4 separate regions of the Homo sapiens genome follow, and regions 2, 3 and 4 are each linked to region 1. Evidence: promoter capture Hi-C in 16 types of primary human blood cells and fetal thymus (Javierre and others, 2016). All regions are on one chromosome and are shown on one strand. The core of a region is centred on a gene start or on the middle of the fragment in contact, and the rest is flanking DNA. Distances in the headings are between cores, read along the strand shown. Region 1 holds the start of OR5A2 (olfactory receptor family 5 subfamily A member 2). Region 2 has its middle 50 kb from the start of MPEG1. Region 3 has its middle 14 kb from the start of MPEG1. Region 4 overlaps DTX4 (deltex E3 ubiquitin ligase 4).

Evidence for each region. Contacts are between HindIII fragments. The CHiCAGO score rates a contact against its expected background, and 5 or more counts as called.
Region 2: a fragment that was not itself captured here is called in contact with the fragment with the promoter of OR5A2 in region 1 in 3 of 17 cell types (total B cells, naive B cells and monocytes); the score reaches 17.2 in total B cells.
Region 3: a fragment that was not itself captured here is called in contact with the fragment with the promoter of OR5A2 in region 1 in 3 of 17 cell types (total B cells, naive B cells and monocytes); the score reaches 8.0 in total B cells.
Region 4: a contact is called between a fragment that was not itself captured here and the fragment with the promoter of OR5A2 in region 1, in 11 of 17 cell types (monocytes, total B cells, naive B cells and 8 more). The highest score is 22.7, in monocytes.

The regions. Positions count from the first base shown.
Region 1 is chr11:59,423,730-59,430,215 of GRCh38, reverse strand. OR5A2 (olfactory receptor family 5 subfamily A member 2) reads left to right here and starts at 3,803. Exons shown (of 2, transcript NM_001001954.2): 1 at 3,803-4,045. The HindIII fragment of the contact is 12,260 bases long and covers 1-6,486 here.
Region 2 is chr11:59,259,302-59,266,052 of GRCh38, reverse strand. It overlaps the pseudogene WARS1P1 and the pseudogene SLC25A47P1. Among named protein-coding and RNA genes, the nearest start is that of MPEG1, 50 kb to the right of the region's middle. RefSeq lists enhancers at 1,849-2,349, 2,350-2,850. The HindIII fragment of the contact is 3,005 bases long and covers 1,089-4,093 here.
Region 3 is chr11:59,223,942-59,230,015 of GRCh38, reverse strand. No RefSeq gene overlaps it. Among named protein-coding and RNA genes, the nearest start is that of MPEG1, 14 kb to the right of the region's middle. The HindIII fragment of the contact is 1,013 bases long and covers 3,506-4,518 here.
Region 4 is chr11:59,182,962-59,189,368 of GRCh38, reverse strand. It overlaps DTX4 (deltex E3 ubiquitin ligase 4), which reads right to left. Exons shown (of 9, transcript NM_015177.2): 3 at 573-634; 4 at 46-207. It overlaps LOC124902675 (a long non-coding RNA gene), which reads left to right. Exons shown (of 4, transcript XR_007062682.1): 2 at 2,488-2,679. Among named protein-coding and RNA genes, the nearest start is that of DTX4, 14 kb to the right of the region's middle. RefSeq lists a silencer at 2,845-2,934. The HindIII fragment of the contact is 7,574 bases long and covers 1-6,407 here.

The DNA of each region.
Region 1 (6,486 bases), core at 2,554-5,053:
CACATGGTACAGTGCTTGGATCACAGTGAGGATGTAATGTGTTTGAGGATGATCAATCACTATTGCAACTGACCCTACAATTTAGGCATATTTCCACTAGGTGGCAGCAACATTCCATACGGATAAAAACCAATAGGTGCTTGGTTTTGACAGACAATGGTTTAGTAATTAAGTTATCTTAGCAGTAATCATGCTGTTTGAGTTTTTAGAGGTTTTCTATTCTAGCTCTTTGGTTTCAGAATAAAAAAAGTTGAGGTCCAGAGAGGGGTCAAGAGAGATCAACAGCGCAATCTGCCATAGTAGAATGGGAATTATAATTCAGGTCCTATGATGCCTTTGCGCTTTCCCTCTTGTATAAATTGTTAAAGACCTCTAAAACTTTTCAATATACCTTCACTTTGGGTTTGTTAGAGATGTCTTGTGAAAACACTTTGGATCCATATCAGGTTGAAATTTTTCCTAGTCGCTAGTGGAAGAAATGCACCCTGAGATAACTTTTCAAATTCCAATTTGAGAGTTAAGATGTTTTACTACTAAGGATATTTGGATTTTTCTCTGGGTTTTCTTTGAAATGATTCAAGTAAACTCATTAAAATAGCTATGCTAAAATGTTAAGCTAAAATGAAAGTAAATCATATTTCAGGAGATGCTGTCAGAGAACAAACTCTAAGATGCATAGAATCCTAGGGAGATAAATTTTGAGTTGAACATCAAAGCACTTCCAATTCTAAACACTTATAATTCGATATGGAGTTTATTTGCCTTTATGTGCTATTTGCTTTCATACTTTTTTATTGTGGTAAAAAGCATATGACATTAAGTTTACCATCTTTATTAGTTGGGGTTCTCTAGAGAGACAGAACCAGGAGGATGTATGAATAGATAGACAGATAGATGAATAGATGGACAGATATTAACAGATGGGTAGGTGAGAGTGGGTTTATCAGGAGAACTGGCTCATGAGATTATGGAGGCTGAGAAGTCCCATAATGTGACATCTGCAAGCTCAACAATCACAGAATCCTGACTTCCTGAGCATGGTTCAGTCTAAGTCCAAAGGCCTCCAAACCAAGAAAGCCAACGGTGTAACTCTCAACATGAGGCCAAGCACCTGATAAATTAAGGGGCTACTAATGCAAATCCCAGACTCCAAAGGAGACCCTGGAGATGTGATGTCAAAGGAAGAGAGAAAGATATCTCAACTTCAGAGGAGAGAGGGGGAATTTACTTTTCCACTGCTTTTTTGTTCTTTCCAGGCCCTCAACTGATTGGAGGGTGCCCATCAACATTGAGTGAGGGTGGATCTTCCTTACTCAGTCCACTGGTTCAAAACATCCTCTGTCTTACAGACATACCCAGAAATAGTGCTTTACCAGCTATCTGGATATCTCTTAATCCAGTCCGGTTGACACCTAAAATTCACCATCACATCATCTTAATTATTTTTAAGTGTAAACGAGTAATATTAAATATATTCATATTGTCCCGTAACATATTTCCTTTGCTACTTTCTGATGTTCACTGAAACTTCTGCTATTTTGATCAAATTTGATTTTTTAAAGTAAGGGCATGAAGAGTTTATGGTTTTATCCAGATGGATTTAATAGGATGACTTTCTTCCTCATTCTCAGATTTCTTATAGACTAGGTTAATAAATACATTCTGAGTCCTCATTCTGCATTTTTCTGTCCAATGCAGACATTGTTAATTTATAATTTGTTCTTTTTTTATTTCAATAGCTTTAGGGGTACAAGTGGTTTTTGATTACATGGATGAATTCTATTAGTGATGAATTCTGAGATTTTAGCGTACCTGTCACTCAAACAGTGCACACTATACCCAATATGTAGTCTTTTATTCCTCATCCCACTTCCACCCTTCCCCCTGAGGCCCCAAAGTCCATATCACTCTGTATGTCTCTGTGTTCTCACAGCTTTGCTCCTACTTATAAGTGAGAACATACAGTATTTGGTTTTCCATTCCTGAGTTACTTCATGTAGAATAATGGCCTCCAGCTCCATCCAAACTGGTGCAAAAGAAATTATTGCTCTTTATTCTTAAGATTCTCAATCTTACTTTGTAGATAGTCATTATCACTATAATCAGAGTTGCCATGACAGATGAAATCTATCACTACCCTATCTTATCAGCCTTTTCTTTTTCTTTTTCTTTTTTTTTTTGAGACGGAGTCTCTCTCTGTCGTCCAGGCTGGAGTGCAGTGGCGCGATCTCGGCTCACTGCAAGCTCTGCCTCCCGGGTTCATGCCATTCTCCTGCCTCAGCCTCCTGAGTAGCTGGGACTACAGGTGCCCGCCACCACGCCTGGCTAATTTTTTTTTTGTTTGTATTTTTAGTAGAGACGGGGTTTCACCGTGTTAACTAGGATAGTCTCAATTTCCTGACCTCGTGATCTGCCCGCCTCGGCCTCCCAAAGTGCTGGGATTACAGGCATGAGCCACCGCGCCCGGCCCTTATCAGCCTTTTCTAATCCTAGAAAAATGTATCCTTCATAACTGTGAGATCTACCTTTTAAATTTCCCAGATCTTAACTCAGTATCAAACTCTTTCATAGTTAGTTGGGGTTTACTCTTTCAGCATCAGAATTTCCTAGGACAGTTTATCTTCAAACTTAGATAAGAATGTTTCTTTTGAGGATGGACTTCCTTGCCTTTTCATGTTCACAGTTGATTCTTGAAGACATTTACCTCCGTTTCTGTCAACAGTCTTAGTTGCTAAATTTCTTCCCTAAATTAAGCCTGTTACCTTGTAAGTCAAGAGTCTCAGTAATTATACCCCTTTATATAGAAGACATTTCTCTCATTTAATTTTTTTTCTTTTGAGACTGAGGATTGCTGACTTAGTCTCCATGAAATAGATGAATTCATTTTTTATAAACTTTATTTCTGAAGAAAACATTTAAAAAAACAGGAAATCAATGTTTTGAAACATCAGACTTTCAGGGCTGGAGGAATTCTTGGAGAGTGAGCCCAATTCACTCAGGCTGGAGGGGTTAATTGACTTGCCCACAGTGACTCATCCAGGTAGTGGCATTGCTGGTAGTAGCACCCAAAATATTAAAAAGAGAAAAGAAGAGCCCCATCAAGCCCTTCATCCCATCCAGCCTCATTAAAAAAAATAAAGAGAAAAGAAATCTTTTCATCGTGATGCAAATAAGTCACAATAAAAAGATAGAAAGGAAAGACATATTTTTGGCCATGACCCAAGAAACAGAGTTAATGACATCATTAGTTTACATTCATTGAGTGATTTCTGTTTGTTAGGCACTGTGCTAAGCCTTTCTTATTCACAGCTTATTTAATTATCACAACTCTGTTGAGGTAGGTATTCTTGTTACACCAGTTTTACAAATGAGGGAGTTGATAAGTTTAAGACATTAAACAACATTGAACATGTTTATATTGATAAAAGGGCAGAGCCAGAATTTAAACCCAATTCTCAGAGTTGGAAACATGTGTTTCTAACCAGTATATTTCAGCACAAGGCTTGGTGTGTTTATGTGTGATTTACTTCTGATGAAATTTCTTTTAAGCAAAAGGCATCTACTAACCCAGCAGGGAGTCTTCCTGGACTCAAATCAGGGAAAGCTCAGAGAAGAATAGGTAGGGGGATGGAAAGAGGCTCCCGTGATGAGCGGTTGGCTCTTTTCGCCACCACTCCAGGGAACAATTAGTGCTCAGAAATGTTTAGCTCTAATGATTGCTGGGCTTTTTATGTTGGACCCTGGAGTGAGTGGCAGAGGGCAGCCTCTTGGGGAAAGAATGTGGCTACCTCTGCCCATTAAAATAATGAACTCCCACAGCCCATTTATTTGGAAGACTTGTTAACAAAGGAGCGGAGATTCCAGAAGCATGGTTTACTATTTACATGAGGCCAAAGCATAAGAAATTGATGGAACGAGAAACCAGCCATGGAGCAGTGGGAAATGCAGATGATCTGGTTTGCAAAAGATGTTATGGCAACAAAGCAATCAATATTTCTTCTCTTGTAGCACAAGATTGCAGGACCCTTCTGCCCAATGCAATCCAGTAAGTCCAGCTCATTCCCTCCTACCTCATCCATTCAGCAGCAAATCACAACTATGCATTTACAGCCTATTCTACCTTTTATTTGTAAAATGGGGCGAGAAACGCTGCCACTTCTTGAGTCTATTAGGAGAATTAAATGGGTTTATAAAAATCAAGTCTTTCAAACAGTACCTCGCACACAATAAGTACTAAATAAGTGTTTGATTATATTATTATATTATGATCGTTATATGATTATTGTTTGTGATTAATTATATATTATGTGTTTTGTTCTTATAATAGTAACACACCAAATATAGTAAGTCATAGGCCAAACCCTTCTGGTAAACTCTGAGGATAAGTGGTGGAAAAAAATCTATTTATTCAGCAAAATATTTAGTGGGCACCTATGTCCCAGGCCCTGTTCTTTGTACTTATGATAAAACTGTCTTTGCAAAATTATAACTGAGGAAATTATGACAGTCAAAGAAATCATATCTACCTGACTCCATCTTGCTTCTAATCTTTAAGCTGTCTTTGTCCATTCTTGGGCATAAGCTGAAGTAACTTTGGGAAGGAATTCAGTTCATGGTTTGACTCTGAAACAAAATTAATAGCAGCTCTTTCCTGAAGAGACCCCCCTTTTGCCTAGGGACCAGTCTGTCTTTGCAGGACTAACAAATTAGCTGCAAGATTAGAAATTACTGTTTAGGGGTCATGCAGCCTCTGACTCCAAGAGTATAAACCTTCCCAAATTGGCCCCGGGGATAACATCACTACTGTAAAACCTAAGATCAGTGCTTGAGATATTTTGCAGACCCTGCACTAGATGGATCAGCTGACACCACCCAGACCCGTTAACTGGCTCAACCAGTTCTGCCATCCCACCCAGGAACAGAAGACAGCAAGAAAAACTCACTTCGACCCATTTGATTCCATCTCCAGCCTAACCAATCAGCATTCCCCACTTCCCAAGCCCCTACTCGCCAAATTATCTTTAAAAACTCTGATCCCTGATGCTCAGGGAGACTAATTTGAGTAATAATAAAACTCCAGTCCTCCTGCACAACCAGCTCTGCCTGAATTACTCTTTCTCCATTGCAATTCCCCTGTCTTGATAAATGAGCTCTGTCTAGGCAGTGGGCAAGGTGAACCCATTGGGTGGTTACAAGGATAGATCAGGAAACAGAATGGGCAAAACTCCCTGCCTGTCTTTGAGTAACTTACATTCTGGTAGGGAAGATTTCACCAAGATAAGAGATACCAAATTCCTCTTACTTCCTTTTTGATAGGATTAAATAGATTGATGTTTTAGTGAAGATCAATCTAGGCTCGTCTTGGTTTTGACTGCTTGACCAGTGATTTGAGGGGAGATTAGAAATTTGTAAAAAACACAAAGCTAGGAGCAGTTTTTAATATGATAAGTGACACAGAACCACAGTTACCATTGGGTGCAAACATGCATGGGCAAACAAATTCCATACAAATAATAAAATACAGCAACCTTAATTTCACCACTGAGTCTTTCTCAGGGCATTTCTGCCTCTTTATACGCATTTGTATTTCCTAATTTTTAAAAAAAATTTCCTTTTTTTTTTGAGACAGGGTCTCACTCTGTCATCCAGGCTTGAGTGCAGTGGCACAGTCATGGTCATGGCTCACTGCAGCCTAGACCTCCTGGGCTCAAGTGATCCCCCTCACCTCAGCCTTCCAAGTAGCTGGAACTACAGGCATGTGCCACCACACCCTGCTAAGTTTTGTATTATTATTATTGTTATTATTTTTTGAGACGGAGTCTCGCTCGGTCACCAGGTTGGAGTGCAGTGGCATGCGATCTCAGCTCACTGCAACCTCCGCCTCATGGGTTCAAGCGATTCTCCTGCCTCAGCCTCCCCAGTAACTGGAACTACAGGCACATGCCACCATGCCCAGCTAATTTTTGTATTTTTAGTAGAGACAGGGTTTTGCCATATTTTCCAGGCTGTTCTCAAATTCTTGAGCTCAAGCAATTGGGCTGCCTCCACCTCCCAAAGTGCTGGGAGTGAGCCACTGTTCCTGGCCTGTTTCCTCATTTTGATCTTACATCAGTGCCAGTCTGTCTTTCTTAACTGCCAGATATGTATGGGCTTACCTCTTGTCTTCATAGTCATCGTCTGTTCTGGCCTGATGACATCAAAGTTGTCCCTTGCTTATCACTGTCTTTAAATATTGAATGAACCCTCTTCTCCCTGCTGCTTTTCTTGCCCAGGAAATATTGATTGCTGTTTGTTCTTGACCACAATGGCTCAGCCCATCTCAGTCAGCTTAGGTACGGCTCCCCTTTCCCCTTTATGGAAACCTGTTCATATCCCTTCTTTCCTATAATTGTGCTGACCGTGCTAGTCCAAATTTTTGTCATTCTATGAATTTTGTGCAATGACTTTTCTTAAGAGCATTATATAATTAGAATAAATGTTCTGGTC
Region 2 (6,751 bases), core at 1,342-3,841, 160 kb after region 1:
AGTGCTAGGATTACAGGTATGAGACACTGCACCTGGCCTATGTGTTTACTGAGCCTCTTTGTGTGCCAGGCCCAGCTGGCAGGGGATCCTGGTGAGCCTGCCTTGAGGAGGCTTCTCTTCAAAGCTGCCTGTCTTTTCCCCTTTAAGCTGGCTCAAGCGCCTCCTGCCTGGAATTTTGACCTCCTATGGGGTCAAATTTTGTCCAGGTGAGAACCCTGAGGCCCAGGACAAGTGGCCTTCTCAGCCCTTGCAGCCAGTGGACTCCAGGGTTGAAGATGCCTCCCAGGCAGGGCAGGAAGGGCTAGAAAGTGGGGAGGAATGTGGTTAGCAGGAGGTGCTGCAAAAAGCAGCCCCAAAAGGGCTTGGGGTCCAGGGGACTCTGAAGGGACAAGGCTGGGTTGTGGCGGGGGCTCAGGAACACCAGCAGCAGGGTCTGGCCTGGCCTGGTATGGTCAGCTCTCTGACTTCACCTCTGTCTCTTCTGACTAATAACTCGTTAACCCTGCCACAGGTAGCTGTTGTCCTTGTTTGCAGATAGGGAAACAGAGGCACGGGGCTTGAGTCTATTTGCCACGGTGCCATCTGTGGCAGAGCTGGGCCTCAAATTCCAGGTCTTTCCCCGAACTCTCATCAGCTGTTTCTGCCTGAGTCGTGGTGTACTTATCGGTTGTTGCCCACAAATACTGCCAGTGGGCTGGGAGGTGGGGTTTGATGCATGCCATGAGCTCGGTGGGAAAAGTAGAGCGGGAGCTGGAGCTGGGGAGCAGCCCTGCCTTTGTGCCCTGTTTTCAGGGAGGAGAGGCAGCACAGAATGCCCTGTGATAGGCTTTGTAGCTTGGAGGTCTATCCCAGGGGCTACACAGGCTCAGAGACTCCAGACCCAGAGCCCTAACCTCTTGGGATTTCAGAGGGAGGCCAGGATGTCTGGGAGGACTGACTGGGGGCTCATCCCGCTCCACACACCAATCTCACCCCAGAGACACATCTACCGCCTCTCAAAGTGGCTGAGACTGTACCCACCCACTGCCTGGGGCTGTGTGGTCAGCATCAACCAGCCGGACATTGCACACATGCAAGCAGGCGAAGCTTAAAGCATAGAGGTTCCCGTGTCCTGGGTACAGGGCTGTCTTGTCTCATTTTATTTATTTATTTATTTTTGGAGACAAAATATTGTCTGTCTCTCAGACTGGAGTACAGTGGCGTGATCATGGCACACTGCATCCTCGACCTCCTAGGCTGAAGCGTTCCTTCCACCTCAGCTTCCTGAATAGCTGGCACTACAGGCATGTGCTACCATGCCTGGCTAGTTTTTGTATTTTTCATAGAGACAAGGGTTTTGCTATGTTGCCCTGGCTGGTCTCAAACTCCTGGGCTCAAGTGATTCTCCTGCCTCAGCCTCCCAAAGTGCTGGCATTATAGGCATGAGCTAGCATGCCTGACCCATGCCCCATTTTAAAGATGAAGAAACAGGCTCAGGTGGGCCAGCGGCTTCCTCCTGGGCACTGAGTGAGCCAGATGAGAATGTGGGGACTTCTGACTTTGCTCAGACTTGCCAAGAAGCCCCATTTTCTGGAAATGCCAGGGCTGCTGATTTTCTCTGGAACTGGGCCAGTACCCCAAAGTCCACTCTGGGCTCCTGAGTCAGGATCCATTCTTTGGAAGTCTCACTGTCCCTCTTTGGCCCCTCCAAATCCCACCAAAATGGCAAAATCTATTACAATACAAAATAGCTCAGGTATGTTTCACCCGGAAATTTCCCTCTAGAAATATGCCCCAGTTAAACATTAAAGACCCCAAATGGTGTTCACTAGGGCACTCTGCAATAAGCTGAACACAAGCCCCCAGCACATTGGCAGCAGAGCTGAGTCCTGCTGGTTGTATTCACAGAGTCTACTGCCTGCCAGGCAGGGCTGCAGAGCTTTGTATCTGCTGACTCCGCTGTCCTCCCAATGGCCGTGTCGTGTTAGGTCATAGAATTTCCATTTTACAGATGAGGAAACTGAGGCCCACACAGATGAAGGGATCCATCCGGGTCATGTAGTTAGAAGTGGATTAGTGGAGACCTGGGTAGCCTGACTCAGAGCCTCTGGCCACCCGCGGCTGCCTGACCAGCATGGGGTGCCGTGGATATCCACGAAGGGCAACGGATCCCTCCATGCCAGGTGGCATGGCATTCAAGACACATGGGTAGGGAGAGGGAAAGGAAGCAAATGGCAAACCTGCAGCATCTCAGGGCTCAGGCTCCCCAAGGTCACCATGGGTAACACGAGGCCTGTGGGAGGCCAGGCGCAGGCTGTGGGCAGAGCTGTAGGTGCCATCTTATCCCTGCCTTCTCCTCCTCTGCAGGTGTTCCTGGCCTCGCCCACTGAGGTGGCTAAGGTCTGCCTGCAGACACAGATGCAGCAGTTGCGGCCCTTGGCCTCGGGGCCTTTGTCTGTGCCCCTCGTGTGTCCTGTGTCTCCTGTATGTTCAGTGTCCAAGTACCATGGGCTGCTGCACTGCCTGGCCATGGTGGCCCATGAGGAGGGGCTGCACAGCCTCTACAAGAGCAGCTCAGCCCTGCTTTTCTGGGACAGCCACTCCTTTGCCACCTACTTCTTCTCCTATGCTGCCCTCTGTGGGTGGCTCGGCCCCACTGGCCATAGCCAGCCAGGTGAGCAGGGGCTGGGACTTGGAAGGGTGGGGACCCCAGTGGGATGAGGAGGCCCAGGTGAGGTCATGCCACATGGCAGTACCTGAGTAGGAACTTGAACCCGGCCTCCTGCCTCCCAGGGTGTGATCTTTGTTTCCCTCAACACTAAGAGACAGCAGGGAGGGGCGAGCAGACTCATGCCAGTGCGTCTGAAGCTCCAGCCCTCCCTTTCCTGGTGCCACATGGCATCCAGTGATGGGGGCCATCATGGGCCAGGGCTGGCAGGTCCAGTGTGAAGCCACCAGGTCTCCACCACAGCAGCCCCCTGGCAGGGCTGGGAGCCACCTGCCTTCACTACATTCCCTCACGGACACTGATCTTGAGGTATCTGTGGGCTGTATGCTGTCCCATGTTCTGCTGAACAAAACTGATTCCGGAACAAGAGGTGGACCCCCTCCTGAGCCTGCCCCTGTCACACTGGTCTCTGTATGTGTGGTGCTGTGGGCACCAGACCTTATGTCCTGTGCCCTGTGCCAGGAACACCCTCTTCCTGCTCGGCCTGGCTGGTTCTACATCCCAGGCGTCACCTCCTCCAGGAAGCTCTCCCTGCCTGACCACCAGGCTTCTCCCAGGTGTCTCCTGCTCTGCTCTCTTGAGGCCCTGTCTGGGTGTGTGGTCACTTGTCTACCTGCCCTCCTCCCACAAGAGCCTGTGAGCAGTGTAAGGACTTCATCTGGCTCCAGGGCTGGTGCACAGTATGTGCTCAGAGGGTGTGGAATGAATGAATGAGTGAATGAATGAATGAAGTCCTGCAGTGGATTCCTGGGAGTGTGTCCAGCTTAGGAGATGCAGAGGCTGAGATGCTCTGGCCAAATGCTGGGAAAGGGAGGCAGCTAAGAGAGAGTTTCCACTGTTCATCAAATGCTGACCCCAGGACCACTTTGTCAAGAAGACCACACCTGCTCGGGCTTGGAAGGAGGGTTCCTGGTAGCACTCCTGGCCCAGCTCCAGCAGCAGCTGCACCCTGGGAGGTGGGGGCCTTTGGCTTCCCTGAGCCTGTGTCACTGAGCAGCTGGCTCCATGTGTGTCCGGAGCGCTGTCACTGGGGAGGGGGTGCAGGTTGTACAGGAGCGGCCCCTGTACTCATTGTCTCTACAACCTCTACCGTAATGATCAGAGATTACTGGGCCTGCGGCAAGGCCCAGCCAGCGTGGCCCTGGGGAGAACACATCACATCTGCTGGTGCTGCAGGCGGGGGCTGGGGGCCAGAGGCAGACCTGTTTCTCCCCGAGCACTATCCTGGAGCGGCAAGCTGTTCTGCAGCTGTCCCTGTGTGCTCAGCCACCCTCTACCTTGGATCCCCGCTCCCCTACCCATTGCTCTTCATACACCGTACCCTTTCAGACAAAGTTGGCTGGTCTCCCTTCCAGGCTGGGGACCACAGGGCAGCAAGGCCAAGCTTGGTCAGTACCACATCTGTCTGACAAGAGGACATTACCAGCTGGAGTAGGAGTGCTCTTCCGGCAGAGCCTACGGCACCATGGTGGTGCTGGCAGCCGGCCTCACACCTCATCTCCAAATACCTGCGGGGCCACTGCTCCTGTCCGTCCTAATCCAGATGTGCCCTTGTCTCTCAGGGAAAAATTCTCTCGGAAACCCCTGGACTTTAGCAAAATGGGGGAGGTATGGGAGGTGTGCAGCCCTCCTCTGCCCTGACCAGCGGTGGCCTTGGGCAAGTCACCTGACTATTGGACCCAGGGCACCCCTCCTAATACCCTAAATAGGAGGCATCACTGCTTTTTACAGGGGAGAAGATGGAGGTCCCAGGAAGTTAAGTGACCTGTCCAAAGTCACACAGCTGATGAGGGAAGAAGCTGGTCTGTGTTGGCTCACTCCCTTCTGGGCCCACAGCCCTGCCCAGGCCCTGCCAATAGACACTCTGGCTGGGTGGACCATGACAGCAGCAGCTGTCATTGACTTCACTTGTTGTCCCTCATTGCACCTGCCCCACAGGTACAATGGAGCTACAATAAGTTGTATTAGTTGCCCAGGGCAACATGGCTGGTGAGATGCTATCTTCTGTAAGTGGTTCACTCCCACTGGCCACAGCCAGCCAGGTGAGCAGAGGCTGGGCCTGGGAAGGCAGGGAGAAGGGCTCAGCCCAGCAGGAATCAAGGCTGGGAAAGGAGGCCTACGTGAGGTCATGCTGCACACCAGTACCCAAGTGGGACTTGAACCCAGGCGTCCAGCCTCCCAGGACTGGAACCTTAATTCCCTTATTTGTAAAATGGTGCTCCTGTGTATCTGTGTGGAGACAGAAGCACCAAGAGCCAGGACAGGCTCACTGTGTCAGAGTCACCCTGTGGCCTTGGACAAGCCATGTTCCCCTCTCCTAAGCCTCAGTTTCCCCACCTGCAAAATGAGGATAGTCCGGTATAGTGAGCCCAAGTCTCCCTTGCAGCTTGGACTCTGCCCTGGGCCTCATGTGAATGGGGCCTGGCCTGGCTCCCAGCCTGTGCTCCCCATCACTACACAGCCCCACCAAGCACCCCATGGCTGGCCCCTCCTCTGAGAAACAAGGACAACCTCTACTTGTGTTCTCCACCAGCTGTTGGGAATGTGAAATGAGGTGTGAGAGGGAGCCCGCACCAAGACACTGCTAACGGCTGTCCCAGCACAAGCCCATTCCTGGGAGCCTACGACTCGGCACGGTGGGGTTCCCGGGATTGTGCGTTTTCCCCAGATTTTGACCCCAGCAGACTCAAGGCCATCCATGAAGAGGGGAAGGGAGGGGACTTTGTTCCCTCCTCAGACCTCCCAGACAGAGCACAGCACCTCGTGCGGGAGCCAAAGAAGTTTATTTACTCCAAGGGGCGGCAGGAAGGCAGAGCGCTCAAGAGGAGAGACCCAGATATATCGACCAGGGGCTCCCCTGAAATTTGGAATTTCTCTTCCAAGCCTGAACATGGCATGTGATTAAATGCAGCCTGTCCAGACACCAGTGAGGGCCTCTAGGGCTGCTTGTGTGACTTTCTTCCTAGCTACGTCCACCCATCCCGGACACAGCCAGTGCATTGCTCTGTACTGACTTCCATTGCGGTCAATTGTCAAAATGAAACATTTGCAGAGGTAATGACTGCTCAGCATCTGACACAGTCAGGGGAAAAGACACCGCTGACTCTGCAGGATGGAGGGTCTAGGATCCATTGGCGGGAAAACACTAGTCAAGGGAAATGAGCATGATTTCCGGAGTAGAATACATGCATGGTCTGGAGTTAAGTAAACCGGAAAGTTTCACCCCCAAGACTCAATTTAATAAAAACTGCCCAACTCTGTTCACTCTTTATGATTAAAAGCAGCTTTAAAGCTGGCTGATTTCTTAGTCAAATGTGTAGCAAAGCTTTTACCTATCAATTTTTTTCGTGGTGAGTCATGGGCTGAAATACATCTTGCGCTCAATAAACTTCCCCACATCAACATTTCAAAGCACTTTTTAGGTTACAATAATGATATTTCACTTCCATATATGCATACATAGAATATATATTTTAAAATAGAGTGGGTTTTAAGAGTATACTGGGAGCCCTAGGAGTCTTCTATGGACAGAACAGGTTGGCCCATGGACTTCCAGCCAAAGGCTCCATGCCTTGGGGCTGCTTTGGGGGAGAGATTCACAGCTGGACTTCTCTATCTGACCATGCAATGTCAGCACCAATCACCCACAATGTTTTGCCCTCAAGAGACAGAAATAATGAAACTCAGAGGAATAAACAGTATTGATAACATACACAGGCTTAGAGAAACCAAGCCCAGTAATGATCATGTGACGGAAGACTACAGGTAGCGGTACTTTGATTGGGCTGGGATTATTGATAAATCACGTCTCTTTATAAGCATATATAAAATGAGCACGACTGAACTCATTCGTTAGTGAACTCTTTCACTAACTCGTCCATGACCTCCTTGCACTGGGCTTGGTGCTCTGTAATCACGGGCTGGAGAACCTCTATGAGCATCTTCTTGAGGTCACCAGTGAGCATGTCTCTGCTGGTGTCATCCTGCCCTCAAAAAGACAGCCATGGTGAGAGATGGCTCCACATGCCCTAAGTGGCTTCTTCC
Region 3 (6,074 bases), core at 2,763-5,262, 200 kb after region 1:
AATTTTTATGGTAGAAACTGAGAGGTTGAATTGCTGTTTCCAGGGAATGTCTAGCCATCTATATAACAGGGCACCTATCACGTTACACTTTTTGGAAGAATGATATTAATGTTATTCCCTTTGATGGGCTCTTTATATGTATCCCTTTAATCCTTGAAACAACACTGTTAGATTGGGTTATTTTCCTCTTTTACCTACAAAATACTACAGATGACAGAAAGGGTCCTTACATACACTATTTCTCTTTCAGTTCTCACAACCACACTATGAGATAGAAATTTTCATCATTTTTATGTGAGATAAGATATATAAGGCTGGAAAGGATGTGAAGTAAAATATACTCTGGCATACACTAATAAATTAAGAACATCTCAAGTGCATATTTACATGACACCAAGGTCATTCATTGAAAATACACATTTTCACTTGCATGCTTGGTACCACTCAGAGACAAAGAAGAAAATATTAAAGCAAATTCTTTCAAAAACTGCCTAAATATTTTCTCTAGTCAGGCAAGATGTAAGTTCAGAAAGAGAAAGGAGAACTGGCTTGCTTCTGCTAAATAGAATCAGTTTTAATAAGATCGCCACCTAAGTTATTTACCAAGAGTGATGAGCTGTATATAACATAGCATTATTCAAAAAGTAATGAATTTCTTTCTTTTTTTTTTTTTGAGGCGGAGTCTCGCTCTGTCGCCTAGGCTGGAGCGCAATGGCGCTATCTCAGCTCACTGCAAGCTCCACCTCCTGGGTTCACACCATTCTCCTGCCTTAGCCTCCCAAGCAGTTGGGACTACAGGCGCCCGCCACCACGCTCAGCTAATTTTTTTTGTGTGTTTTTAGTAGAGACGGGGTTTCACCATGTTAGCCAGGATGGTCTCGATCTCCTGACCTCGTGATCCGCCCGCCTCGGCCTCCCAAAGTGCTGGGATTACAGGCGTGAGCCACTGCGCCCCCGCCATGAATTTCTTAATGGAGAAATTTTGTAAATTTTTTTTCATAAATGACCGTAAAACAAGGGAGAAACCAAAATGTTAAAACATAAACAGAATTGAATTAATAATGAGTAAGTAATGCTTTCCAAAGTTAATGACAGCAAGGAGGCTCTATCCAGCTTACAGCCCCTGTCTACACTCAGCTAAAGGACTGACCAGCTGTGCTATAGGCTCTAGCAAAGGAAAACAGTCTTGAGTGTCCATGTACCAAGTATCAGGGGTTGGGGGAGCAGTTAATAAAGAGAGGGATGGATGTTTTAAAGTCTACCCCTGGATTAAGCCACGTAAGAAAAGACTGCCACACAACATTGCATCAGAATCCACAAAGAATGATTTATACTGAAAGACTCTAGAAGAAATAGACCCTCTGACAACTGTCTTCTTCACTACAATTTTCCTGTATTCATCCTATTAACAATCTGTACTGTATCATTGAACATGGAAACATAAACTCTTTCCACGTTGGCCACTAACAAGTTTTGAGTGAAATTTGTGGGACATCTGTAGCAAGAAGTTTAGTCACTCTGGGAGCACTTTTTTTTTTTTTTTTTGAGACGGAGTCTCGCACAGTTGCCTGGGCTGAAGTGCGGTGGCGCGATCTCGGCTCACTGCAAACTCCGCCTCCCAGGTTCAACCTATTCTCCTGCCTCAGCCTCCTAAGTAGCTGGAATTACAGTCGCCTGCCACCACACCCGGCTAATTTTTTGTATTTTTTAGTAGAGATGGGGTTTCACTACGTTGGCCAGGCTGGTCTCAAACCCCTGACCTCATGATCCATCCGCCTCGGCCTCCCAAAGTGCTGGGATTACAGGAGTGAGCCACCGCGTCCGGCCTTTTATTCTTATTCCTGGCTCTTCTCTGCATCTCTGTTTTTGCTTTTATCATTCTTTAATTTTTTTTTTTTGTTTTGAGATGGAGTCTCGCTCTGTCGCCCAGGCTGGAGTGCAGTGACGCCATTTCGGCTCACTGCAAGCTCCGCCTCCCAGGTTCATGCCATTCTCCTGCCTCAGCCTCCCGAGTAGCTGAGACTACAGGTGCCTGCCACCATACCTGGCTAATTTTTTTGTATTTTTAGTAGAGACGGGGTTTCACCGTGTTAGCCAGGATGTTCTGGATCTTCTGACCTCGTGATCCGCCCGCCTCGGCCTCCCAAAGTGCTGGGATTACAGGCCTGAGCCACTGAGCCTGGCCTAAATTTTTTATTTTGTATATTTTATATATCTTTGCAGGATGCTTGCTTAAATATTTTGGAGCAAAGTAGAATATAATAAAGTCCAAGATTTTGCTTTACACAGAAAGATGATGCATTAGAAAGAGAATGTGTCATGGTTCTTTTGGTAACAAATATCAGAAATGTCAATCCACTGCCACCAGAAGAAAAGAAATCATAAATGCCCACTTTAGAAAGTCCATTAGGATAGGAATTCGAAGAATTGTGCTTGGTTTCTTACTCAAATTGTGTGTCTTTTTAGATAAAGTAGACATCCCACTGTCTTCATGTATATAATGGAAATATTAATAGCTGTTCTTCCATCATATAAATTACCTGTACAAGTTTGAGTGAGGGTCAAACTAAATAATGTAAGTAAAATAAATTTTGTGAACTATGAAATCAGTGAAACTTCTAACACATGTAAAGTCAACCCTCAAGTGTGTTTTGAATCTCTCTACATTTTGTGGTTTCTTGGATCCAATTAAAATAAGAAGGAAAATCATTTTTTAAAAGAAACCACAGAACAGCATCATAACCTAATTTTTGGTAACTCATCCATGTAATGTGGAACTGCTCCCTTTCTATCAGGATTATGACTTTAGTACTTTTATTTATGATCATTTTAACAGAACCACAACTCCCTTTTTGTGACAAAGACTGCTAAAACTGCAGGGAAAGATAGACTGCTAAAAATCTGAAAACCTATGGGGATAACTCCTAATGAAGATGGTCTCTAATATCTGCTCAAAAATATTAAGTCCTTTAATCCATCCCTAAATCAAAGCATAAAATCAAATTGTAAGGGAGCAAATGAAGACCCTCTTCCCTTTATCAATTGCTCAATGGCAGTTTAAGAGATTTTGACAAACACTTTGACAAATACTTTTACCTTCAATGAAACCAACACATTCTCCTGCCTATAGAGATGTGGAGTAGAGTCAGGAATAAAACAATAAAACAATAGTAAAACACACATGTTGTTTTACTACTTTTCCATGTGCTGAGATATAAATATCATATCATACTATTGTTCTCACTGACAGTTTGCTGAGGAGGAGAATATACCAGGTGAGGGTGATTATTATTTGAAATGGAAAACTACATACAGTGATAGTCAAGAATACAGTATGGGCTCAATAAACAATGTGGAATGAGTTGGCAGGTCTTAGAGGACATTCCAGGCAGCTTTTCATATTTATTTTCACTGCCAAGTATTATCACTGTTATTTGTAAAGAATCACAGGAAATCCTACCATCCACCCTGCTGAGGGCACTAAAGGGCATACGTGTTTGAAGCTTTGACCATCGCCTTTCAATAATGATTGTGGTCAGCTGAAAAATAAGCCCTTCTCTCCCAAAGATGTCTACATTCTAACCCTCAGAACTTGTGAATGTGTTACCTTATGTTCTATAAAGGAGTTGGTCATGGGGGCGTGACGACAGAAGCAGAAGTTTGGAATGATACGGAGAAGGGGCCGTGAGCTAAGAATACAAAAGCTGAAAGAGGCAAGAAAACAGATTTTCCTCTGAAGCCTCCAGAGGGAATGCAGCTCTGAAGACACCTTAATTTTAGACTTCTGACCTCAAGCACACTGTTGTGTGTCAGACTTTTCTTACCTGGCTTAATCCAGTGGTAGACTTTAAAACATCCATCCCTCTCCTTATTAACTGCTCCCGCAATCCCTGATAGGTGGAAAATAAATTTGTGATAATTTGTTGAGACAGCCATAGGAACTTACTGCAATGATACACAAAATGACTCCAACCCACCCCCATGGAACATCCTGAGGGATCTTATAAAAGAGAAATTGTATCATTTTACTCTCCTGAATAAAACCTTTTATTAACTGATGAAGTCCCCAATTCTTATCATATACAATGCATGATAAAATCCACTCCTATACCTGTCTCTCCAGCCTCTGCTCAAACCACAGCCACCTCTGTAATCTGTAGTCACCCTAGACTTCCCAACATTATCTCCATTCTCTTTCAGTATGTCTCAGTCTCTGTCTCTCTATCTGTGATATGGTTTGGATATGTGTCTTTTCCAAATCTCCCTTCGAAATGGGATTCCCAATGTTGGAGGTAGGGCCTGGTGGGAGGTGACTGGATCATGGGGGCGAATCCCTCATGAATGGAAGAGCACCATCCCCTTGGTGATAAGTGAGTTCTTGCCCAGTTAGTTCACCTGAGAGCTGGTTGTTTGAAAGAGTTTGGGACATCCACCTTCTCTGTCTCTCTTGCTCCCACTCTCGCCATGCGATGTGTGATGCACCTGCTCCCCCTTTGCATTCTGCCATGATTCAAAGCTTCCTGAGTCCTCTCCAGGAGCAGATGCTGGTGCCGTGCTTTATATAAAGCCTGCAGAACTGTGAGCCAATTAAACCTATTTTCTTTACAAATTACCCAGCCTCAAGTGTTCCTTTATAGCAATTTAAAATGGATGAAAACAATCTGTTTCTGTCTCTGTCTCTGCCTTTCTATCTGTCTCTATGACTCACTCTGTCTCTCTATCTCTGTCTCCCTGTCTCTGTATCTCTATCCGTGGTCTATCTCTCTGTTTCTTTTCTCTCTCTCTGTTTCTGTTCTCTGTCTCTATGTCTATCTCTTTGTCTTTCTGTTTCTGTATATATCTCTGTCTCTATCTCTATATATCTGTCTATTTCTATCTCTGTCTCTGTCATTCCTCTCTGTTCTTCTATGTCTATCTTTGTCTCTGACTCTGTTTTTGTCTCTTCTTTCTCTGTCTCTCTCTCTTTGTGTCTGTTTCTGTTTCTCTCCATATCTCTGTCTGTCTCTCTCTCTCTCTGTTTCTCTGTCTCTGTCTCCACGTGTGGCTCTTTGTCTCTGAATCTCCATCTCCCTCTCCGTCTGTCTTGGAGGGCCATGCTGATCCCCAGGGCCACATTCACTTCCCTGCTACGTTCTCTCAGCATCTTGAACTTCCCTTTCACATAGTGCATCGTGTTCAATGTCTGTCCTTGAATGACTCTATAATCTTCATGACAAAGCAACTGGTGCCTGACTCAGTATTTGCTCAACAAATTTGGGGAGGAGTACATTATTAATTTGACTGTACCTCACAACATTTTTAGAGCTATCCATGATCTCTTAGTGACTGCTCTACCCACTCTCCTCTGTTTACAAGCAAATAACTGGAGCTCCCAGTGGGGAAAAAATTTGCTAATGTCTCACAGCTGGTTAATGAAAGCACTCTTTTCTGGCCCAGCAATCTTTCCACTTATCACACAACAGCTGGGTGTTGCTTGTTGACAACTTACCCAAGAGGAGGTGAAAGGTTCTAGAAGGAAGAATGCAGTACGGTCTGAAAACCCTTGCTCCACTGTTTGGCGACTCTGATTTCCTGTTTTCAAGGAAATCATGCTACTTCAGCTATCCCATGAATCCTGTGGCTTGGAAAACTTCTTCTCATCATAATTATCATGCCTCAAATGGAAGAAACCATAAGAGAATATACGGACTGGCAGTTTTCAAATTGTGTTCCAGGGATCCCAGGCCTGCTCTGAGAGGTGAGGAGGAAGTGAACTTCTGGGCTTTGGCGCCCTGCTTCCTGCTCAACCGAGGGAGCTCTTCTTTCATATGTTTTATATTTTTGGTTTCCATGTAAGCTTACATGGGAAAAGAAAGGCTCTACAGCTGAATAATGCTTATAATCCACAAATTTAATATAATCCTCTAATTTTGTAAGTGAGAAAATGAAAGCCCAGAGAAAGGAAGCAATTTGCAAGATGGTGGCAGAGCTAGGATTCACACCGACTGCTCCTGAATCCTCATGTCCTGACCATAATCTTTCCTCTCTATGAAGAATTCCTTCATATTATCTCACCCACCATGAAAGTAAAGGAG
Region 4 (6,407 bases), core at 1,775-4,274, 240 kb after region 1:
CCAAGTCTTTGACTCTCAGTACCCCACGAGACAAGAGGCTGGTACCTTTCTTGGCTTGTTTTTTGGTGGTCTTGCGGCTTGTGTTGGAAACCCCTGGGATGGATTTTATTTCACTCTTGCTGACGGGGGGTGGGTGTAGGACCAGCTTTGGTGGCCTGGTGAGACACACAGGCAGCCCCGCTGCACTCATGAGGATCCCAGTGATTCCTGGAAGGGGCAGGGCATGGGTGAGGAAAGACTGGAGACTTAGCTCTCAACATTCCCCAAATTCCTCTTTCCCCATTAACCTACTCTCCTCCTTTCCAGCAGAAAGTTCTCATAATTCCTGGATTCTCTACCCTGTACTTTCCCCAGAAACTTATTCATTCACTCACTTATCTTCAATTGCATGCTTTCCTTTTAGTAATCAGTTCTCTTCCAAACTCTTCATACCCTTCCCATGCAATTCCTAAAATCACCATTTGCTTTCATTAATATCTAGATTCTCTCCTTTTTTTCCACAAATGCTCATGACCTATTTCATCACTCTGATTTCTCTACCTTAACCCAGAGCATCCTGGGGTTTCTCTTACCTGCCAAGGCAGGGTTGACAGGACTGGACCCATTTAGGTTCTTCACTGGGACTGTGGGGACCCTGTGAAAGGAAAGAGCAGATACAATGTCATTTTGACACGTGGAACAAAATGGACCAGTATTTAATTCTAATAAAATGCAGTTAAGTGCTTAACACAGCAGACAGCAGGAAGTGACATCTTCAAAACCTAAGTCAGGCCATGTCATGCCACCACTCAGAACCTCAGAACTATGTTCCTCAGTTCACTCAGAGTCAAAGTTAAAGTCCTAGCAAGGCCTACAGAGCCCAGCACGATCTGCCAACACTGCCACCCAGCTTCTCTTATTCATCTTGCTTCCTCTCATATCACTCAGCTCTCAAGGAGCCAGGTGCACTCCTGCCTCAGAGCCTTTGCATATGCTGTTCCCTGTACCCAAAATGCCCTTCCACCAGACAACTGCTTAGTTTCCTCCTACAACTCCTTCAGTCCTGGCTTAAATCCTACCTATCAGGTGAGGTTCCTGAGACCATAGTATTGAATATTGCTACCCACCCCTCCATCCCACGCCAGGACTCCTGCTCTACTTAGGATCCTTTAAAAGAAATTATTGCTTATTATGCCCCCTTCTAGAATCTAGGCTCTACAAAGGGCAAAATATCTTTGTCTGTTTTGTTCAGAGCCAGGCACTAGTAGGCATTCAATTGATATTTGTTGAAGGATGAAAAAACAAAGAAGCAAGTTCAAACCAGGGTGTACAAAAGAGTCACCTAAGATGTTTTTAGAAGGACAAGGTCCCAGATCCAGACCAGAATATCCACCTGTGGAGCACGAGAAGCTGCATTTCCCAAAGCTCCTGAGAAGCTGCAGATGTAGCAATCCCCAGCCTAACATTTGGAACCACTGCTAGAACAGCTGTCACTTCTCCTTTTCCCTGAGACATATATAAATATTAGGCAAAGCCTCCTCCCCTTTCTGTCCTTCTCCCCAGCAACTCCAGCCAGGCTGGAGAGGAGATGGCACAGCTGCCTGGGAAAGGCGCGGCCCTCCCACAGCGCTGACTTGGAAAATATGGGACACATGGGTCTGGGTCTTGCGCCATCCTCTCTGTCACCCACACTCCTGCAGCTGGGCTTGGAGAGGCTAATGGACCCGGTCACAGATGACTCCAGGAGGCAGACAGCCTGCAAAGCCAACAGCTCTGCTGTGGGGGCAGGATGGTGCTGGGAAAGCAAGAGGAGGAAAAAAAGAATATTTATGTATTGATTTATCCATCCAAAAAGTGTTTATTGAGCCCTACTTTGTGTTGTTTGCTATTCCCGATGCTGGGGGTCAGCAGTGAACACATGGCTCATGGCCCTTCTTCACTCACATGTTACAGTTACCAACATGCACAGAGCTCACCTCCCCCCAACAGTGGCTCCAACTGCTCACAGCATATAAACCTGTCTGATCCTTCCAACATCCTATGCAAGAGGTGCAGTCATTAACACCATTTTAGAGACAACTACATTGAGGCACAGAGAGGTTAAGGAAACTTGGTAAGATCACACAGCTAAGCCAGAAAATCTGGCACCAGAGCCCATTTACTATGCCAGGCTCTTGTGTTTACGTAATCCTTATAACATCCCACACTGCAAACATAGACCAGAAACTCAGAGAGCGTAATGAATAAACCCACCACTAGGAATGGGGAAAGCTGCAACGGGACCTCCATGCCAAGCAGTGGGGTCTGTCTCTGCCCCTCATGCCTGTAAGGAAGGTTCTTCCCCAGCTCTAACCTACTTTGAGCCTGCCTGGGGCTCTGTCCCTTCCCAGGGATGATGACATGTGCACCAATGCTGGGAGATGGATGTGAAAGAACAGATGTGGGAATGGGAATGTTTGTGTCTCACCAGGCCACCCAAAGCCGCTTTTCTTCTGAAACTGTCCCCAGGATAAATCAAACCAGGATGGGAGGATGGAGGAGAAAGCTGAATACAAAACAAGGGCCACTGGGCCAAGAAAAGAAGAATGGACTTGTTTCTGGACTCTGTGACCTGCTCCCCAGGGCCAGGCATGGTATGGTGGATGGGCAGTCAGGAAAATCAGGTGCAAGTCCCATCCCTGCCAGGAGTTTCTCGCTAAGGTAGTTAACTTTTCTGAGCCTCAATTTCCCCATCTGTAAAACTGTGAGGGTCTTGGGTTAGAAGACGCTACGGAAACTGGCTGACAACTTCCCACCAATATCTGAGAAAAAAATGGCCACCCAAGCCCTGAGTCCTCCACTTATGGCCGATTCTCCTCGCCCAGCTCTTTCTGGAGAGGTTTGGGGAAAAGACCCGGCTTCCTGTGTCCTGCTCCCAGCTCCCCAGCAGGGGGCAGCACTCAGAACCCAGACCTGCACCTACCTTCTCCCTCGCCATCTTCAGAGCCCCCACTCCAGCTGATAAGTAGCTGTGATCTGGGTGACAAAAGCCACCTTTGTTCCCATAAACTGGACTGGCAGGTTTCCACACCCAATCTGGCCAACCAGGAAATAATCCAATCCCCAGAACACCACACATTTCAGGCAGCTCAAGAACTCAGGGGCAAGATGTGGAGAGAGGGAGGGAAGGGCCCGCATGTGGACCTGGGACACACAAGAAGACTATGGGTTCAACAGGTGGGAGAGATACATGTCCCTGCCACTTGAGGAGAGGAATGACATGGCGGGTAGGCTTGTCACTGGGCTCTGGGAAGGAGGGGTCTGGGGAGAAGGGGTATATTTGCTTGTGAAATCCAGAACCGTGTAATGGAAGGAGCTCTGCACTGGAGTCAGGGAGTCTTTGTTTTAGCCCCGCTCAGCACTGACCTGCTTTGCCTTTGGGAGAGCCGCACAGCCTCTCTGCGTTCTGTTGACCATATCTAAGTTACCACAGCCGTGAACAGGGCATCCTAAATGTCTGCCCCATGGGGTCCCTGTGAGGATTTAGGAACTAGGTCAACTAACTGTAAACAGCTGAGCCCTGTGCAAGTTTGGGTGACTGTTTATGCTTTTACCTCCCAAGTATAAAAGGGGCATTGGGCTGAATAAAGACGTTTTCTGCTCTAATATTCCAATTTTCTGATTCTCGAGGTCATGGGTATCCAGCATAAAGTTGAGTGCTGGGCAGTACTTGAGACGGTTGATCTCACCTCCCCCACTATTACTGGTTAAACCTTGGAGAACAGCCCATGAAGTCCCAGCTGGTCACACCCTTTTGGGGCCTCAGCTTCAAAAGCCTGAGCTCTCCTAGAAAACTGCAACCCAATGGCAGGCATGCATCTCACATCCTTCAGGCAACTCCATCAGCCAAAACTGTCTGTCCTAACCACTGCTTGGCCAATCATAAGACACCCCCTGCCCCCATTCAGTTGGCCTGTTCCCTGATATGGAGGGTCTTTTGTTTCTGTCGCTAAAACATAAAACTAAGACAAGAGAAGAGAGCTGGCAAGGTGGCAGAGAAAGGAGTTTTGAGGGAGGGAGTATATCTCTGCAGTCACCATGATGAGAAGCAGTGTTTTTCTCGGAGTTATGCACCAGTCCAGGAATCCTCCAGCAGGACAAGGATCTTGTCTCTACGGCAACTGAGGCCTAGCTGGAGACAGAGAATCCTCAGCTCTAGAGGAGGGGGCTAGAGGGGTGACGCTTGCCTCCACTGCACAGCCCCCTTCTTGCTTCCCTTTAGAAAACCCCTGCTTCTGTCTCTGAATAATTCACAGGATCTTTTGTTCCTGCCCCCAAACCTTTCTCTTCATCCCACTCCTCCCGCCCTCCCTGGTCTTCCTTTTTCCGTGGGAAAGTTGCTGGAAGAGGTCATGGGCAGAGAGAGGAGGGGGAAAGGGGCCCTGCAATGACAGAAGGTCGATGGCAATGCCAGACAAAGGGAATAAACACGCTAATTAAATGGCCAAGAAAGGCTGGAGGAGAAGATGGGATTGGGGGTGAGGGAGGTGGTAAGAGGTGAAAAGCAAAGGGCTGGAAGATCGAGAGGAGTAGGCAGGGGCCTCCCTCATCAGGAAAACAGAGTAGAGAGAAAAAAAAGAAAACAACTTGTTTCTATAGCCCTTTTGAAACTGTACTGCTCAGACCTCCACCCATTCTCTAGCCCCAATTCTATGAGCGGGCAGAGGAAATAAAGAAGATAGATAAAGCTGCTGACTCCACTCCCTCATCGAGATTCAAAGCCACCTGGGTGCCTCTCCCTCAGTGATGGAAATGAAGTCACTTGGCATTTGTCAAGGGCACCAGAGACAAGGTGGGATGTCAGACCCTACTCAGCTTTGACTTCCCCTACATGGACACCTGTTAACAATAATAACAGCAATCACAATGACAGCAGCCTATACTGACTGAACTCTTATGTGTCAAGCACTGTGCTAAGTCTATACACTTAGTATGTCATTTGAACTTAAGACAACTGTAAAAGGAAGTTACTATTACTATCCCATCTTACAGATGAGGAAACTGAAGACAGAGGATGCAAATCTTGCCCCAACTGACACAGCAAGGCACTTGGGTTCAAGCCCAGACAGTCCTAGTTTCTGGAGGACGGGTTCTTACCCAGCACAGGAGCCTCCCTCCTCCATGCTAGCAATCACCCTGGAACTCTGTTAGAGGCCCCCAGGATGGTGCTGTGTGAAATCGGGGAGAAATTAAGCAGCAGCAAGGTTTAGCCATCCATTCTCTGCTCCCAAATACTTCTGCCATCTCAGGGGAAGTCATGAAAATCTCATGCATCTCACCAGCATTTTGCCTGTTATAAACTGCCTTTGTGTACAATGAGGAGCTGGGCTTTAGCCAAAAGAACAGTGGATCAGGAGGCCAAAACCTGGGTTCCAACCCCTATTGCATAACACATGAGCTCTGTTTCTCCTTGGGAAATCAATTCTGAGCAGGATGTCTGTGCTTAACACTTAGATCACAGAGTAAGAGAATGCACTGCCAAGAGGCCAACTCCCTTAGTGGAGGTTTTCACGATAACTCCATGCAGTAGGTAAGGCCACTGGATCTTGCAAAGATTCTGTGGCTCACCCCAGTGACAGAGGTAGGAGTAGGGGCTGGGCCTCTGGATTTCCAACTCGGCACTCTTCCCACTCTGTGGTGTACCCTCCTTCATTCCTCCTCCCAGTGCCAAACCTCTGTGTGCAGGGACCCAGCTGAGTACCAAAACCACCTTCTTAGAGCAGCCTGGACTTTCAGACTTAGGCACCCAATGCAATTGAAAACCATCCGGATCAGCTGGGATCAGGGGCCACAGGCAGAGCCAGGCCTCTCTGGAGACAGAAAGGGAAGATTGGGTGGCTGTGAGATGCTAAGAAACCAGGGGCTGGCAGGCAAAGGTTGCAGCCACCATATGGATCTGGGTCACTTCGATTTTATGATCAGGAAAATCAAGAACATAAAAACCAATACAAACAGGACCTACAGCATCAACAGGTTGTCACAGAAATAACTGAGACAATGTATGGAAAGTGCCTGGCACATAATAAGTCATCACTAAAAATAGGCCGGTATTCCAATTTGGAGTCACCTCTCTGGCTTCCAGAGAGACTACGGGAAAGAAACTCTCATTTTGCACCTACTGAATGCTGGGCATTGTGGTAGGTACTTGGTAGAAGAGGAGCACAGCAGAGTCAGAATCTGGGCTCTAGTGTCAGATGTCCTAAAGTCTGAATCCCATTCTCTGCCAATGATTAGCTATGTACCCTTGAACAAGCGAACATCTACTGTCTTCATCTGTAAATGGGGATAATGCCTACTTGCCTACTTCATAGAGTTGTTGCAAGGATTAAATGAGATGTAAAGCCCCAAACTACAATATAGTGGGAGTTCAATTAATGTTATTAATGTTG